Linked DNA regions of Homo sapiens: region 1 is linked to region 2. Evidence: promoter capture Hi-C in human tissues and cell types (Jung and others, 2019). All regions are on one chromosome and are shown on one strand. The core of a region is centred on a gene start or on the middle of the fragment in contact, and the rest is flanking DNA. Distances in the headings are between cores, read along the strand shown. Region 1 has its middle 200 kb from the start of TTC39B. Region 2 holds the start of SNAPC3 (small nuclear RNA activating complex polypeptide 3).

Evidence for each region. The method cuts DNA at HindIII sites, captures the fragments that hold promoters and counts their contacts. A contact is called where the count stands out against the background at its distance.
Region 1: a contact is called between a fragment that was not itself captured here and the fragment with the promoter of SNAPC3 in region 2, in 1 of the 25 tissues and cell types used here (H1 embryonic stem cells).

What each region holds. Positions count from the first base shown.
Region 1 is chr9:15,106,104-15,112,324 of GRCh38, reverse strand. No RefSeq gene overlaps it. Among named protein-coding and RNA genes, the nearest start is that of TTC39B, 200 kb to the left of the region's middle. The HindIII fragment of the contact is 4,463 bases long and covers 2,139-6,221 here.
Region 2 is chr9:15,419,224-15,425,808 of GRCh38, reverse strand. SNAPC3 (small nuclear RNA activating complex polypeptide 3) reads right to left here and starts at 2,933. Exons shown (of 9, transcript NM_001039697.2): 1 at 2,616-2,933; 2 at 1,823-1,900. The coding sequence starts at 2,929. RefSeq lists enhancers at 2,457-2,576, 6,387-6,585 and a silencer at 2,917-3,206. The HindIII fragment of the contact is 4,082 bases long and covers 1,058-5,139 here.

The sequences.
Region 1 (6,221 bases), core at 3,121-5,620, 310 kb after region 2:
ATATTTGTGCATAGGAATAAACTAGAAGGAAACCCATTAATATTATGTGTTTAATCTCTGAGTTGTAGAATTTGGGTGATTTTTGTTATCTTCTTCAGAAGTTTAATGTAGTTTATTAATCTTCTACAATACAAAATTTTCTGTTTTATAAACAGAAATAACAAATACTATTTTATAAAACCTGTACAAATTACATTAATTCCAGCATGCTAAATTGAACACATTATTTTTAGTAGAGCCTTTCAAGGATTATAATTATGTCCTTTTGGATTTACTGGGTAGTCGTAATATTTACCTCTTTCCTTCACTTTGCCAGTGGGAGAGATGTTTGCTATGGCAACAGAAATGACTAGAACAGTCATTTATTTCCTTTTCTAAATTTAATTTTTAGGAAGAATTAGAATGTGAAATGTTTTCCAAGTAGTTGACCCCATCTGCATCTTCATTTACATTTCCTAGAGTCCATTGGACCTAGCCTTGCTAGGCCAGGGCTAACTCCTTCACACTCTGTCGTGGAATAAAAATGAACACTTCGACTAAACTATGGATGTATTTAATTAACTCATCCATATTATCCTTAGTTACTCTCTATGCAGGGCAATTCTGACCCAAGAGAGACTAAATTTCCTTTGAAAGAGTAATTTATTTTTTGGGAAATAACTGTGACTGTTTATTGAGTGCTTTAGTATCATGCCTAAAGTTTAGTGTAATTTCCTTCTATTATCTCATTTAATTCTCACAATAACCCCATTATATGGTTCCTATTATTATCTCTGTTTTGTATACAAAGTACCTCATATATAAAGAGGTTAGGTGACCTGTCCAGTGTCATATCAATCATAAATGCCAGATGTGAGCTGTAAGGCCATGGGAGACATAGACCAAGTTCTTAAACTCTAAGCTACTTAGCATTCCTGTGTGTTCCCTCTTATGCCCACTGAGACCCACTGTGACATTTGAGTACAGGCTAGGTAATCATTTTTAAGAATTCCAGTGTCAGAGGAGACTTTCTATCATGAGACTGTTGCTATAATGACTAAATTATTCTGAATTGATAAGGAATGCCAGATGCCTGCAGGTTCATTCTATTAAAATTTGCTTTGCATATTTCTGCCCTAAACTCAGTGAAACTCATGTTTTAATCTCCTTGCAATTCCAGGGGAAATAAAAAGCAAAATCATTTTATTGCCAGTAAAAATCTTCTAGGTTTAGTCAGAGCAAATTATAATTTCTGGTGCTTCTTGACTCATTAGTTCTTCCAGATGGTGCATGTAAACATGGCAGGAGCTGCAAAGAGTGTGAAGGCCGAAATGTAAATCAAGCAATAAGTATTCATTATAATTTGTGTGACAAATGGAAAGCCTATAAAGCGAAGCAGTGCATTGCTCGATCAATTTCATCCCATTACTCTTGGGATCCCCCAGAGACTATTTTCGGAAACAGACTCCCCAATTTTGTCAAGGTCAATTGTCATTACAGTGTTTAGAGGAGTCCTCAGATGCCTCGCAGATAAGCTTGAGTCATCATAGCTGCATTCTTTCTGCTCTTGATAATCTATGGGTTGTCCTTAGTTCTTCAAGAAGCATGAAGAAACAAGAGGAAAATATGACTTTAAAATGTTGAGGTTATTTGAAAAGGAAGAGAAGGCTTGTTGCAAGTGTTCCCATACCCACTGTATTGGAAGTAATCCTGCCTTGCCCAAATTCCCCCTTCCCCAGGATCCAGGTATACATCCCACTGTCCTGCTGGGAGTATTGATGACTGATGGGTCTCAACTGAGGTCCTGAAGAGATCTTCCTGGCCCAAGGTCACATGCCTTCTGAGCAGCTGCATTTATTGACTGGCTAATGGGTAAGAAAGAAGGACCAGACTCCTGATCCCACTTTCTAGCCCCTCTCCAACTTCAGACAACTATGATTGGCCTTCTCAGCTCCAGAGCTCCTCATAGGGTCAGCTGAGGCCTTTGTTGCAAATGAATTTCAGTTCGACTTTTTGCCCAATTTTTAGTGGTTATATAGCCCCCAATATAAGAAGCAACATGCAGCGGTAGAAAAGGCACCAGATCATGAATCAGAATACCCGGGGTCTAAAGCAAGCTTTGTTACTGTTGAGCAATGAGATCTTGGAGAAAATAATTTGCCTTCTCTGTTCCTTATTTTTCTTATCTTTCAAGTATAAAGCTTAGCCTAGCCTAGCAGTTCTTACCTATGCATCTCTCCCAGTGGATGTCCTTTGACTCCCTGAAATTATATACAATGTCTATGTATTTTTCTGGCAAGGTTAGGGGCATAACTTTCATTAGGTTCTTGAAGGTCTCCACAGAATTTTTTTCTATTGTGGTAAAAAAAATACATAACATATACTTTACCATCTTAACAATTTAAACAATGTTCAGTTCAGTAGTGTTAAATATATTCATATTATTGTGAAACAGATCTCCAGAACTTTTTTATCTTACAAATCTGAACTCTATACCCATTAAATAACTCTTTTTCCTCCTCCTCTTAGCTTCTGTTAACCACCATTCTACTTTCTGCTTCTATAAATTTGACTACTCTAAGTACCTTATGTAAGTAAAATCATATACTATTTGTCTTTTTGTTGTTGGCTTATTTCACTTAGCATAATGTCCACAAGGTTCGTTCATGTTGTAGCATGTGACACCACTTCCCTTTTTTAAGGCTGAATAATATTTCATTGTAGGTATATACTATGTTTTGTTTATTCGTTCATCAGTTGATGGACATTTGGGTTGCTTCCACTTCTTGGCTGTTCTGAATGGTACTGCTGTGGATATGGGCATCAAATATCTCATCGAGACTCTTCCCTTCCCTTTCCTTGTCCCTCCCTCCCTCCTTCCCTCCCTTCCTTCCTTCCTTCCTTCCTTTCTTTTCTTGATATGGGGTCTTGCTCTGTCGCCCAGGCTGGAGTGCGGTGGCATGATTATATCTCACTGCACCCTCAACCTCTCAGGCTCAAGGAGTTTCCTCCAGCCTCAGCCTCCTCAGTAGTTGGGACAGGCATGCACCACTATACCTGGCTAATGTTAAAAATTTTGTAGAGATGAGGTCTCACTATGTTGCCCAGGCTGCCCTTGAGCTCCTGAGCTCAAGTGATCCTCCTGCCTCAGCCTTCCCAAGTGCTAGGATTATAGGTGTGAGCCATTGCACCTGGCTATCCCTACTTTCAATTCTTTTGCATATAAACCCAGAAGTGGGATTCCTGGCTCATATAGCAGTTCTATCTTAACATTTTTTAGGAATCTCCATATGGTTTTGTATAGTGGTTGCATCATTGTACAATTCTATCAGCAATGTGCAAGGGTTCCAATTTCTCCATGTTTTGCTATCTTAGTCTGATTTCTGTTGTTTATAACAGAATACCTAAAACTGCATGGATAAAAGAAATTTCTTTTTCCTTTTTTTTTTTTTCTGGAGGCAGGGTCTTGCTCCATCACCCAGGCTGGAAGGAATTTATTTCTTAGAGTTATGGAGGCTGAGATGTCCAAAGTCAAAAGCCTGCATCTGGTGAGAGCCTTCTTGCTGACGGGGATTCTCTGTAGTCCCAAGATGGCACAGGGCATCACCTGGCAAGGAAGCTGAGTATCCTAGTTCAAGTCTCTCCTCCTCTTCTTATAAAGCCACTAGTCTCATTCCCATGCTAACCCATTAATCCATTAGTCCATTAATCCACTAATGAACGCAGAGCCTTCATGACCCAATAACCTCTTAAAGGCTCCACCTCTCAATACTACCACATTGGGGATTAAATTACAACATGAGTTTTGGAGGACAAATATTCAAACCATAGCACTTGCCAGCGCTTACTATTTTTTTTAATAGTAGTCATTCTGATGGGTGTGAGGTGATCTCCTCATTGAAGTTTTCATTTGCATTTCCCTGATGCTGAGCATCTTTTCACATGTGTGTTGACCATCTGTATGTCATCTTATGACAAATGTCTATTCAAATCCTTTACCCCTACCCACCTTTTCTTTTTCAGGCAGGGTTCCACTCTGTTGCCCAGGCTGGAGTGCAGTGGTGTGATCTCGGCCCACAGCAGCCTCAACCTCCTGTGCTCAAGTGATTCTCCCACTTCAGCCTCCTGAGTAGCTGGGACTATAGGTGTGCACCATCACACCCAGCTAATTTTTATATTTTTTGTAGAGACGGCTTTTTGCCGTGTCACCTGGGCTAGTCTCAGACTCCCGAGCTCAAGCGACCCGCCTGCCTCAGCCTCCCAAGGTGTTGAAATTACAGGCATGAGCCACTGTGCCTGGCCTGTCCATTTTTTAATTGGGTTATTTGTATTTTTGTTGTTGTTGTTGCTGAGTTGTGGGAATTCTTTATATATTCTGGATATTAACCCCTTATTAGATCTATGATTTCCAATGATTTTCTCCCATTCTGTGGGTTACCTTTTCACTCTGTTGATTGTGTCCTTTGATAAACAAAAGTTTTAAACTTTGATATATTCCAATTTGCCTATTTTGCTCTTGCTGGCTGTGCTTTTAGTGTCATATCTAAGAAATTATTGGCAAATCCTAATCATGAAGATTTTTTTTTCTAGGAATTGTATTATTTTTGGTCTTACATTTAGGTCTTCAATCTATTTTGAGTTAAGTTTTGTGTATGGTGTAAGATAAGGGCCCATTTTTATTCTTTTGCATGTGGATGTTCAATTTTCCCAACAACATTTGTTGAGGAGACTGTCCTTCCTCCACTGAGTGGTCTTGGCACCCTTGTTGAAGATTATTTGACTGTATATACGAGCATTTATTTCTGGGCTCTCTATCCTATTCTTTTGGTCTATTGTCTGTCTTTATGCCAGTATCACACTGTTTTGATTACTGTAGCTTTGTAGTATGTTTTGAAATCAAAAGTATGAGTCCTCCAAATATCTCCTCCTTTTTCAAAATTGTGTTGGCTTTTTGGGATCCCCTGAGATTCCATATTGATTTTAAGATGATTTAAGATGAATTTTTTTATTGCTACAAAAAATGCTGTTGTATTTTTTGATAAGAATTGCTTTGAATCTGTAGATTGCTTTTGGGTAGTATGTCCATCTTAACAATATTAAATCTTCCAATCCCCAAACACTGGGAGCCTTTCCATTTATTTGTGTCAACTTTAATTTCATTTAGTAATAGTGATATTTTCTAGTTTTCAATGTATAAGCTTCTCACTTCCTTGGTTAGGTTATTCCCAAGCATTTTATTCTTTTTGATATTATTATAAATGGAATCGTTTTCTTAATTTCCTTTTCAGATTGTCCATTGTTAGTATATAGAAATACAATGGGTTTTTTTGTGTCAATTTTGTATCCTGCAATTTATACTGAATTTATTAATTCTAACAAGGTTTCTTTTGGTGCGAAATCTTTAGAGTTTTTTACATATAAAATCGTGTCATCTGTGAACAGTGATAATTTTAACACCTTTCCAATTTGGATTTCTTGTATTTCTTTATTTATCTATTTTTTTTTTTGAGACAGAGTCTCGCTCTGTCACCCAGCCTGGAGTACTATAGCATGATCTCGGTTCACTGCAACCTCTGCCTCCTGGGTTCAAGCAATTCTCCTGCCTCAGCCTCCTGAGTAGCTGGGATTACAGACATATGCCACCACGCCTGGCTAATTTTTGTATTTTTAGTAGAGACGGGGTTTCACCATGTTGGTCAGGCTGGTCTCCAACTCCTGACCTCGTGATCCGCCTGCCTCGGCCTCCCTAAGTGCTAGGATTACAGGCGTGAGCCACTGCACCCGTCTGTATTTCTTTTTCTTTCCTAATTGTTCTGTTCTTGTTTAATTGTTCTGGCTATGACTTCCAATACTATGTTGAATAGGAGTGGGGAGAGCAGTTATTAAGCCTTTTTCCTTATCTTAGAAGAAGAGCTTTCAGTCTTTCACCATTGAGTGTAATGTTAGCTGTAGGCTTTTCATAAGTGGCTTTTATTATTATTTTATTTTTTTGAGACAGAGTCTTGCTTTGTTGACCAGGCTGGAGTACGGTGGCAGGATCTCAGCTCTCTGCAACCTCTGCCTCCCAGGTTCAAGTGATTCTCCTGCTTCAGCCCCCTGAGTAGCTGGGACTATAGGTGTGCACCACCACGCCTGCTAATTTTGTATTTTTAGTAGAGATGGGTTTCACCATGTTGGCCAGGCTGGTCTCGAACTCCTGACCTCAAGTGATCCACACGCCTCGGCTTCTCAAAGCATTGGGA
Region 2 (6,585 bases), core at 1,684-4,183:
ACTTCAGCCTAAGGGACATCAAAAGGTTTTAGGCAAGGGAGTGACAATCAGATGTGCATTTTAGACAAATACAACTAATCAATCAACAATAGTTACAGAGCACCAATTGGAGCAAGGCAGTATAGTAGGCTTGAGAACAATACACAGATGGGAGTTTGGACTCTCATTGAGCCTTCAAGGACTTTAGAAATGTTAAGAGTTTAAGGCAGTATAAATGCATCTGTTTCCTAAGGGAAAGATGGGTTGTGGTAATCTGGAAAGGAATCTTTGGGCTTTTAAAAAAGTGGTATGGGCAAGGTGTGGCGGCTCACGCATGTAATCCTAGCACTTTGGGAGAACGAGTTGGGCAGATCACATGAGGTCAGGAGTTGAAACCAGCCTGGCCAACATGGTGAAACCCGTCTCTACAAAAAATGCAAAAAAGTTAGGCAGCCGAGGGTGCAGGCACCGGTAATCCCAGCTACTCCGGAGGCTGAGGCAGGAGAATCGCTTGAACCCGGAGGCAGAAGTTGCAGTGAGCAGAGATCACGCCACTGCACTCCAGCCTGGGCAACAGAGTGAGACTGCATCTCAAAAAAATAACGTAACATAACATAACATAGAAGTGGTATGTTTCAGATGGGAGAGAGGCCACATGCATCCTGAGCCATCTGAAAGAGAAAGTGGTTGAAAATAAATCTGGAAAGGCAAATTTGGGATATATGTGGAAGGCTTCAAATGTCTAGCTAAGGAGTTTGAAATTTTTCCATATAGGAGATGTAGGGCCATAGACCATTTTTAAGCAAAATGGCTTGCTCAGGCGACAGCATGATGGATAAATCAGTGGGAGAAATGACTGTACTTATCAAAGACACTTAAGAACCTTGCACAGTGCTCCAGGTGTTGCTGCTGTAAAAGTCAGCAGTAGGGACCAGGGGAACAGATTTAGCAGTTATTATGAAAGAAAACCCAAGTAGAGTTGAAATGACTGCCTGAATATTTGAGGGGGATAATAGCGTAGGATCAAGAACGACAGAACATAGCTGAGGTAGTATGAAATAAGTGGACTATAAATTGGAAATTATAAATTTCACTATTACATGCACAATTTCTCTATATTATCATACAACAGTGCCTCTCAAAGAGTGGTAGGCAGACCAGAATTCATCTATGACCTATTTGTTAACCAATCTGTACAGAAAATGACAGTAAGCATTTAGAAACTTCCATTATCATTGAATAATTTTGTCTATTGAATTTAATTAAAAATTTGAACTTATATTGTGTTTGTCTTTTTTAATTCCATTTTTCTAGTAATTCTTTTTATAGTATTTTATCAAAGCATAAATCTGTCAAAGATTAAAAATTTTTAAAAACAAGAACTGTCCTTTACCACAAATAGTTTGAAAAACACTGTCAGAGTATTTAGGTTGCCCCCCAGATCTAAGTAGATTACCTCTATAAACAAACATTCAAAAATATTAAAAAATAAACACAAGTTTGAATATGGACTGAATATTATAGATTATGTATTTACGGTTTTCTTAGGTATAATAATACCACAATAATTATGTAGGAGAATGATACTTTTAGAAGCTATATGCTTATGTATTTACGGGTAAATTATCATGTCTAACTTACTGAATGGGGGATAGCAAAATGAAAAAACACACAGCAGGCATCCCATACACACGGCTAAAGTAAATATGGTCAAATATTAAGAACAGCTGAATTTAAGGGGTGGGTATACAGACAACAATCAATACTGCACTTTCAACTTTTCAAAACATAATGTTGAAAAAATGTTTAAATAAATAGGTCATAAAAACCAAGTCCTCCATACCCCAAAGTCACCAGGTCAGTATTCTCCGGAATGACTTCTGGATCCTCACCGTCCTCAAGGCATTTCAGTTTATCAAGGCTAAAACAAAAAGGAAAAGCAATACTTTAAGGTCGACTCTGCATCTGGTTCACAGCGAGTTAGGGTTGTTTTCCTAAATACATTACTGAATTACGAAGTCAGATAAAATCCAGCAGGCGGCTCAGAGAGGCCAGAACTTAAGACAACGATTTCTGTGATTATATTTTATAATGAAAAGGCCGATGAAGGCAGCCAGTACTGTTAAATGGAGAAAGAGATTAAAGTTATTTTTATATTTTCATCCCCAAATAAGGCACTTTTAAGAAATATTTCAGTAACAGAATACCCGGAAGGTCCCCAAAAGAAACCAGTTAGTCGGGGTTTTAACACTCCTCTGATGAAGTCTCCCGCAGCTTCACCATTACTCAGGTTCCTCCATTGTCAAAGTGTCTGTCAATGGCAGGTACACGTCGCTGTTGCCCTGATTGCTTTTCTTTATTAACAAGCACTCTTAGAATAAGCAAATGGAAAAACTAGTCTTTGATGCAGCTGTCTTGTCCCTTTGCTCCAACTCGTAGAAACTGTGCATTCGGGTCCCAGGACTTCTCCTGGTGTCCCAGGAAGGCTCCAGCGGGTTGAAAGCTTTAAAGGGTAATACTCCTAGCCCAGGTCTAAACCACAGGCCCTTCTCAGGGATGAGTCCCAGAGGAGCGCACGAGCAAGGCTGCACCCTGTTTGACCCCAAGCTGCAAGAGCCCCTTTGCTCCGCACTCACCCGCACACCGCCCTCAGCTCAGCCGCCGCCTCCAGGCTGCAGTCCAGATCCCTGGCCACCGCGGCATCCTCCCGGTCGGAGTCAGCTGCCTGGCTCCCAGGCAGAGCGGATGCCGGCGGCTCCCTCAGCGACAAGTCCCCGGCCCCGCGCAGACGGCCCCGCCACAGCTCCCCAAAGGCGCCCACATGGAAAGCGCGCGTATTTAGCTCGGGAAGCTCATACTCTGGAAAGTTGCAGCCGCCACTGCCGGAGACTGGGTCCTGCCTGCCACCCACCCCGCTACACGTAGGGCCACCTCGGCTTCCTTCAGCCATGTTCGCCCCACTCCTTCCCCTGCAAAAGCCTGCAGATCAAGGCCTCGCAGAGCGTGATGGAAGTTGTAGTTGCTTGGGGCGCCCGGCCGGCGAGCGGCGAGGCGGCGCGGGCAGGGCATCAGAAACTACATTTCCCGGCAGGCCATGGGCAGGCCCGCCCCAGGGCGCGGCACCGCGAGGCTCTACGTGCAGGGCGCAGCATTGTTCTCCGACCCGGGCGGTGCGGGAACCGTTGCGGCTGTCGGTTAACCGCAGCGGGTGGGGCTGGGTTTCTGGTCCCCGAGTTACGTAGCAACTGTCTCTGCCCGGTAGGGCGGCCTCGCCAGGCGCTTAGGCCCCGTTCCTTGCGGCTTTCGGACTAAGGGGTGCAGGGCTTTTTCTTGACTGGGGTTCAAGGACTGCTCTGCTGCCTGATTGCTTTAGAGCCTAAGAAACAAGGAGGGCGAGGGCCGAGACCAGGGACACGACCAGCCCTCCAGATCTGGTTCTTTCACAAGCTCCGCAGAGGCCCCATGTTGGTGTGCGTGTGCAGTAGTGTTTCAGAGCGTCTGTGTATCACACGCTACATGATTAACCCTAATGTATGTTTTTAATGTTTTTAAAAATTACAACAACCTTTCCGGATAGGGCGTATCACCCCGTGTTGCTGTTGAGGAAGGATTTACCTGCGGGGAAAATAGAAGCAGGATCGGAACTCAGTCTGGCTTCAGATGGAGCTCTCTCCATTTCTCAGAGGCCCTGAAGGATACAGCAGGACATACTATTTATTTATTAGACTGTAATCACATGCCATATAATTCACCCATTTGAAGTGTTCAGTGATTTTTGGTATATTCACAGGCTTGGGCAACCATCACCACTATTTGAGAGCATTTTTACCACTCGAAAGAAGAAACTTGTACTTTTTAGCTATCACCCCTGATCCTCCCAACTCCTCCAGCCCTAGCCAACCAAGAACCTACTTTGTCTCTCTAGATTTAACTAATCTGGACATTTAATATAAACGGAATTATATGGTCTTTTGGTGGCTGGCTTAATGTTTACAAGGTTTGTTACAGGTAGTTAGGCATGAGCAGGGCAGGAGAGGGCTCTTCCCTCACCCACTAGGAATGTGGGGTGATGCTTAGGCATTTATCACATTGCCTCTAAAAGTGATAAATTGGCAGCCGGTGCCAGGGAGAGGCCATTTCCTGATGGCCCACACCTGTTGCACTAAAGTGCTCGTTGAATGCAGGTGACAGGGAGAAGCAACTTCCTGGGCATATGCATTAAGAGACAAAATCGGGGAGTATGACCTTTCAGGGGGACTCTATCGGAAAAGGGAAGAAAGCCTCAGATGGGCACGCATACAACTTCATACATATTGCGCTGTGCTCACTTCCCAAGGGTAAGGAGGGCACTGCGCATGGAGGCAGCCCACCCTAAGGGAAGAATCATGGGAAAGGAGCCAGCCTGTAAAGTCCTAGGATCGAGGTCAATATCACAGTTGACCTCAGTGACAGCTTGGGACTCTTCCGAGCGTGCTTTCCTTTCTTTCCTAAAGGCCTTTTAAATAAGCTTCCACTCCTGCTCTGAAACTTGCCTCAGTCTCTTTTTGTGCCTTATTGCCCCTCGGTCAAATTCTTTCTTCTGAGGAGGCAAGAACTGAAGTTGCTGCAGACCCATACAGATTTGCCCTGGTAACTTGGATACCTGCCACCTGTAACACGTTCATCCATTTTGTAGTATGTGTCAGTACTTCATTCCTTTTTTGGCTGAATAATATTGCATTGTATGTATATGCCACATTTTATTTATCAAAAAGTTTTTACCTTTTGGCGTTGCTATGAACATTCATGTACACATTTTTGTGCAAATACGTTTTCATTTCTCTTGGGCATGTGCCCAGTAGTATACAGTCAGCCCTCCCTATCTGTGGGTTCTGCATCCTCCAATTCAACCAACCACATATCAAAAATTACAGTATTCCCAGGTTGCAGAACCTGAGGATAAGAGGAATTTTCCTATGGGCGGATTCCACAGGGCTGACTGCAAGAAGAGCATCTGTCAATTTTGGAGTCCACAGGGGTCTTCGAAACAGTCCACCCTGCAGATACCAAGGGATTTCTGTATTTATGGAACTCTATTTTCAACTATTTGAGGAACTGCCAGATTTTTTTAAAGTGGCTGTCCCATTTTACTCCCCTCCCCAGCAGGATTCTCCACATCCTTGCCAACACTTATCTGAACTTTTTATTATAACCGTGTCAGTGAGTGTGAAATGGTGTTTCATGACTTTTTATTTGCATCTCCCTAATTATATTGATGGAACACGTTTTCATGTGCTTATTGACCATTTGCATATTTCTTTGGGGAAATGTATATTCAAGTTCTTTACCAATTTTTAAATAAAGTTATTGTGTTTCCATAGGAGCTCTGGTTTTTTTTTTCTTTCTTTTTTTTTTTTTTTTTTTTTGTTTTGAGACAGAGTTTCCCTCTTATTGCCCAGGCTGGAGTGCAATGGTGCGATCTTGGCTCACCGCAACCTCTACCTCCTGGGTTGGAGCGATTCTCCTGTCTCACCCTCCTGAGTAGCTGGGATTACAGGTGCATTCCACCACACCTGACTAATTTTTTTGTATTTTTAGTAGAGATGGGATTTCATCATATTGGTCAGGCTGGTCTAGAACTCCTGACCTCAGGTGATCCGCCCACCTCTGCCTCCCAAAGTGCTGGGATTACAGGCGTGAGCCACTGCGCCCGGCCTTCTGGTTGTTTTGTTGTTGTTTGTTTGTTTGAGATAGTGTCTTGCTTTGTCACCCAGACTGGAGTGCACTGGCACAATCAAGGCTCACCGCAGCGTGTCAGGCCTCTGAGCCCAAGCTTAGCCATTATATCCCCTGTGACCTGCACATATACATCTAGATGGCCTGAAGCAACTGAAGAACCACAAAAGATGACATTCCACCATTGTGATCTGTTCCTGCCCCACCCTAACTGATCAATTGACCGTATGACAATACACCCTCCCCGCCCTTGCGATAACGTACTTTGTAATATTCTCCCTGCCCTTGAGAATGTACGTTGTGAGATCCACCCCCTGCCCACAAAAAAATTGCTCCTAACTCCACCGCTTATCCCAAACGTATAAGAACTAATGATAGGCTGGGTGCCGTGGCTCACGCCTATAATCCCAGCACTTTGGGAGGCCGAGGCAGGAGGATCACAAGATCAGGAGTTCGAGACCAGCCTGGCCAATATGGTGAAACCCCTTCTCTACTAAAAATACAAAAATTAGCTGGGCGTGGTGGCAGGTGCCTGTAGTTCCAGCTACTTGGGAGGCTGAGGCAGGAGAATCGCTTGAACCTGGGAGGCAGAGGTTGCAGTGAGCTGAGATTGCGCCATTGCACTGTAGCCTGGGCGACAAAGTGAGACTCCGTCTCAAAAAAAAAAAAAAGAAAAAACTAATGATAATTCCATACCCTTTGCTGACTCTCTTTTCAGACTCAGCCCGCCTGCACCCAGCTTTATTGCTCACACAAAGCCTGTTTGGTAGTCTCTTCACACTGACGCGTGTGACACAGCGTAGACCTCCCAGGCTCAGGTGATCCTCCCATCTTAATCTCCTGAGTAGCTGGGACTACAGGTACGCTGTCATCACATCCAGTTAATTTTTT